Regions from separate parts of the Homo sapiens genome. Here region 2 is linked to region 1. Evidence: promoter capture Hi-C in human tissues and cell types (Jung and others, 2019). All regions are on one chromosome and are shown on one strand. Each heading gives the region's core, a stretch centred on a gene start or on the middle of the fragment in contact. The rest is flanking DNA. Distances are from core to core; before and after follow the strand shown. Region 1 holds the start of INPP1 (inositol polyphosphate-1-phosphatase). Region 2 has its middle 7.2 kb from the start of GLS.

Evidence for each region. The method cuts DNA at HindIII sites, captures the fragments that hold promoters and counts their contacts. A contact is called where the count stands out against the background at its distance.
Region 2: a contact is called between a fragment that was not itself captured here and the fragment with the promoter of INPP1 in region 1, in 1 of the 25 tissues and cell types used here (hippocampus).

The regions. Positions count from the first base shown.
Region 1 is chr2:190,342,254-190,344,953 of GRCh38, forward strand. It overlaps INPP1 (inositol polyphosphate-1-phosphatase), which reads left to right and starts at 1,336. Exons shown (of 7, transcript NM_001128928.2): 1 at 1,336-1,708. It overlaps LOC124906109 (serine/arginine repetitive matrix protein 1), which reads right to left. Exons shown (of 1, transcript XM_047446773.1): 1 at 1-2,700. The coding sequence starts at 2,063. The coding sequence ends at 1,185. RefSeq lists silencers at 1,322-1,631, 1,702-2,031. The HindIII fragment of the contact is 3,445 bases long and covers 144-2,700 here.
Region 2 is chr2:190,872,294-190,874,993 of GRCh38, forward strand. No RefSeq gene overlaps it. Among named protein-coding and RNA genes, the nearest start is that of GLS, 7.2 kb to the right of the region's middle. The HindIII fragment of the contact is 3,999 bases long and covers 1-2,700 here.

The DNA.
Region 1 (2,700 bases), core at 86-2,585:
ACTCCAGCCTGGGCGACAGAGTGAGACTCTATCTTAAAAATAAAAAAAAAAGAAAAGAAAAGAAAAGAAAAATGGACTAGATTTATATCCCTTGCTCCACCCTGTCTTCCCCAAATTTAAATTCCTGCTTCCTAGAGGCAAATTCTTTCACCTTCTATGTCTCTGGTATTTATCTCCTTACTTTTAAGAATCATGTTTAAATTGTTTCTTGATTTTGCCATCATAGATATGATTATGAGGCTAATTAAACAGTAATCCTAACCGCTCTGAGAATGGACCTAAGAAATGAATGTGAGAAAGAAAGTAGAAGCAGCCCACTTGCTAGTGAGTGAAAGCCAGGGAAGGGTGGGGGGATGCGGGGAGAAATTGTCTCAAGTTGGAGAACCCAGGTGCAGGCTGGGAGCAGTACCATGAATTCCATTCAAGAAGCCAAACGTTTTAAGCACCATTTCCTGGAGTTTGCCAAGTTGAGTATTGACCCAGCCTCCTGTCTTGTTGGTTCCTCACTGCTGAAGAAGACCAAGTGTTGACAACTCAGTGAGGCAGTCTCAGCTGGAGTGGAAAAATGTAGCTAAGAAAACGTGCCAGACAAAGCTTTAAGCAGAGCTTCCCAACTGGATGCCGTGAAACGAATGACAGGGATGCAGATACAGCATGGGTCTTCCCAGCCCTCCAAGTGCAAGGGCTTCTGCAGGAAGCCTTCTGCAGGAGCAGCCTCTTCTGTTTACCCCCATTTTGACCCTTGTAATATCATCCTTTCCTACCTGTGCCAAGAAGTGAAAAGGTGTGTGAAGCGCCGCTTTAGAAGGCCCAGTACATTCACAAACATCAGCTTCTGGGCGAGGCTGCTTGGCCTCTTCTATTCAAAACTTTGTGTTGCCCTTTTAAGGTTTCTATTCCCCCCACCCCCACCCCGCCCACCAACACCCATTCCTACCTAGGTTCAACCCAAACCATCCTTAAGGTACACTGAGTATCACAGCACCAAAGGCTGGAGAGAGATAAGTTCCCCACCCTTGATGCGCTTCCTGTCCAGGTGGCCCGAGGCCCACTCCTTAAGAGGCAAGGCCCAGAGACACTGCTGTGTCTTGAGGAACATCCAGTACACCTGACATTTCCATTAGAACAGTGGGACCCGGATACCACTGGCAGGAAGTCCATCTTCACAGCTGCCAACCCATCTGTCAAACCCGCAGTCCCCTATGAGAGTACAGATGAATGGAGGAGGAAGATTTAAAAGTGAATTCGTGGGCGGCGACAAGGAAACAGCAGCCGTGGCCAAGCTGACCCCAGAGCCCTTCCCTTCCTGGCCCTCCCTCTGAATCATCGCGCTCCACTTGTGACGTCGCGGACGCCCGGCTCGGGCAGGCGTGGGGGGCCCGCGCGTCCCGGGAGCCCCGAGGCGGCAGCGCGCGTTTCCACGCCGCGGTCCCGCGGGAAAGCCGGGGGCGGCGGCCTGGCTGAGGCCAAGCTCGGATCCGGTGCCGAGCCAAGCGGGGCCGTGCGTCGCCGGGGCTTCGCCTTCGCTCGCGTGACCTCCGCCGTCCTCCCCAACCCTCGTCCTCTGGCCGCGCCTGCGGCCGCACGCCCAGCGCCCCTCGCCTAACCTCGCGCCCGGGCCGCGCCTCCTCCTCCTCCTGCTCCCCGCCGCTTCCGTTTCTCGAGGGAAAGGCTGCTGCCTCCTGCTCTGTCCTCATCCCCGGCTTAGGTAACACGTTTTCCTCCTTACGACACCCACCACAGGGTCCCCGCGCCGCTGCCCCTCCTCCTTGGATCTGGGGCCCGGGCTGGTGAGCGGCGCGCGCCGTCGCCTCTCCGCGGGTAGGTGAGTCGATGGCGCCGGGAGGGTTCCTCGCCTCTGCGCGCCGGCCTGCGAGGTCCCTGCCCCGGCAGCGAGGCCGCCCCCGGCCGGGCCCGGCCAGGCATGCCCGGCATCGCCGCTGCAGCCAGCGCGGAGGGGAGCTCGTGAGTCCCGCGGCGCCCTTGGCCCTGCCCGAGCGGCCCGATGGGGTTGGGGGGCGGGAAGAAAGGGTGGCAAACAACGATTTTAAAAATCCAGTCATTAGTATTTGTAGGACGAAGAAGCTGATCTGACAGTTGTCCAGAGCAGTGGCCCAGCTGCAACAGGTAGATGGCGCAGCTGTCAGTGACCCCTTGGTCTCAGCCTTGGCTTTGAGAGATGCATCTGAGTGTCCCTAGCTGCCAGCTACCTCCAGTGACCTACTTGATGAGTGTGAAATAAATATGATGGGACTATATTTAGAAAAATCTTTACTTCCTTGCTGTTAATTCTCTCTGCATTTTGAAAGGTGGTTTTGTGAGGTGTGCATAATTAGTTGGTGTGTCCAGAGTGGTAGCTGGAAAAAAATATTTAACCTGGGTTTGGCCCTATCATGTAGACGGTTAGGCGCAAAGAGTGTGAAAGGAAACGCTTACTTTAGTACATCTGTGAAAAACACTTATAAGAAACCACGGCTTGTTTTTTGGAGATTTCTCATTTTAAAGGTATTTTTAAAGTGTTGAATAAGCAGAAGTTTGCCCACTGTATGATGGTGTTCACTTCAAAAGAACAGTGGGTTAAAAGTATGGACAGACCACTTAAGTGGATCCCATCTGTTGAGTAAAAGATTTTTTAGCCCTTTTACACTGATTCCTAGCTTTGAAGCCAGAAAAGTTGATAAGGATCAGCCCTGCTCAACT
Region 2 (2,700 bases), core at 78-2,577, 530 kb after region 1:
TCAAATGATCTGCCTTCCTCAGTCTCCCAAAGTGCTGAGATTACAGGTGTGAGCCACCACGCCTGGCCAATTAAATTGCAATGTGAGTTTTGTCAAGGACATTCAAGCCACAGCAGAGTCTTTGGGTGGGCATTTCACTGATGGTTCAAAAGAAATGAGGATAAGTGCCAGATCTAGCTGAAGGGTATGTTTTCAGCAACTCTATTATTAATTAGCCATGTGACCTTATTAACTTATAATATCTCTAGCCATAACATTTAGCAATTGATACCTGTATTAGTCCATTTTCATGTTGCTGATAAAGACATACCTGAGACTGGGCAATTTACAAAAGAAAGAAGTTTAATGGACTTACAGTTCCACGCGGCTGGGGAGGCCCCACAATCATGGCGGAAGGTAAAAGGCACATCTCACATGGTAGCAGACAAGAGAAGAGAGCTTGTGTGGGGAAATTCCCCTTTTTAAAACCATCAGATCTCATGAGACGGATTCACTATCAGGAGAACAGCACAGGAAAAACCTGCCCCCATGATTCAATTACTTGCCACCAGGTCCCTCCCACAACACATGGGAATTCAAGATGAGATTTGAGTGGGGACACAGCCAAACCATATCAACACCTGTCTCCAACAGAAATGTTACAAACATAAATAGCCTCTTTAACATCAAAGGAAGGAAGAATATATTTCTTATTCATATGTTATTAGTAAAGTAATTGCTTTCATATTTATCTCTGAGATAGTAAAAAAATATAATTTTAATGTTTTTCTGTCAAATATGTCATTCTTATCTTTAATAAAACCTTTATTTCAGGGGTAGTAACTCTTGATTGTCCTTTTGAAAAATAATTTACAGGGTAGCTGTATTGCTTACTAGTTATATCAGTCAGCATTGGTTAGGCGAAATTAAGTTTAAAAGGAGCCATTAAAATGTATCATAGAATTTGTAATATTTTCTACACATATAATAATTGTTAGAGGGCTGTAATGGGTTTCAACATTGAAATAAAGCTTATTTTCTTTTTTTGAGACAGAGTCTCGCTCTGTTGCCCAGGCTGGAGTACAACGGCGCAATCTCGGCTCACTGCAACCTCCGCCTTCCGGATTCAAGCAATTCTCCTCCCTCAGCCTCCCAAGTACCTGGGACTACAGGCGCACACCACCACACCCAACTAATTTTTGTATTTTTAGTAGAGACGGGATTTCACCATGTTGGTCAGGCTGATCTCAAACTCCTGACCTCGTGATCTGCCCGCTTTGGCATCCTGAAGTGTTGGGATGACAGGCGTCAGCCACTGTGCCCGGCCAAGCTTATTTTCTTTTATCACAAAATATTTCAAATACACAGAAAAGGGAACATAACAAACCATATTTGCCTGTTTGCTTCAGATTTTTAAAATTATTAAGAAATTAATCATGCCGGGCGCAGTGGCTCATGCCTGTAATCCCAGCACTTTGGGAAGCTGAGGTGGGTGGATCACAAGGTCAGGAATTTGAGATCAGCCTGGCCAACATGGTGAAATCCCATCTCTACTAAAATACAAAAATTAGTGGGGCATGGTGGCATGCGCCTGTAATCCCAGCTGCTTGGGAGGCTGAGGCAGGAGAATCACTTGAACCCAGGAAGCGGAGGTTGTGGTGAGCCGAGATCATGCCATTGCACTCCAGCCTGGGCAACAACAGTGAAACTCTATCAAACAAAAAAACAAACAAAATGAAGTTAATCATTACAGATACAGTTTTCACTCTCTGTGTACAACTCTTCAATGCCATTCTCCATTACATATTTAGAAACAATAATCACTATACTGAATTTGATGTTTGCCATTCCTGTGCATGTTTTAAACATTTAAACAAAATCTGTATAAATCTATAAATAATATATTGTTTTGCATGTTTTAACATCATAGTATTATAAGGCCGGGCACAGTGGCTCATGCCTGTAATCTCAGCACTTTGGGAGGCCAAGGCAGGTGGATCACGAGGTCAAGAGATCGAGACCAGCCCGGCCAACATGGTGAAACACTGTCTCTACTAAAAATACAAAAATTAGCCAGGCATGGTGGCAGGCACCTGTAGTTCCAGCTACTTGGGAGACTGAGGCAGGAGAATTGCTTGAACTTGGGAGGCGGAGGTTGCAGTGAGCCGAGATTGCACCATTGCCCTCCAGACTGGGTGACAGAGCAAGACTCCGTCTCAAAAAAAAAAAAAAAAAAATCAAGGTAGTATAATATATATACACCCATATGTAACTTTTACCCCTTCGACATTGTTTTTGAGACTTATTCACTTAATATAGGAAACTAGGGATCATTAGTTTTAAATAATGTGCATTACATAATGTGTGCCATGTTATGTTAATCCATTCTTCTACTGATAAACATTTAGGTTGTTTCTACAGAGTTTTCAAAATACATTGTACTGGCTGGGCGCGGTGGCTCCTGCCTGTAATCCCAACACTTTGGGAGGCCAAGGTGGGCGGATCATGAGGTCAGGAGATCGAGACCATTCTGCCCAACATGGTGAAACCCTGTCTCTACCAAAAATACAAAAATTAGCTGGGTGTGGTGGCATGTGCCTGTAATCCCAACTACTTGGGAGGCTGAGGCACGAGAATCGCTTGAACCCAGCAGGCAGAGGTTGCAGTGAGCTGAGATCGCACCACTGCACTCCAGCCTGGCCACAGAGTGAGACTCTGTCT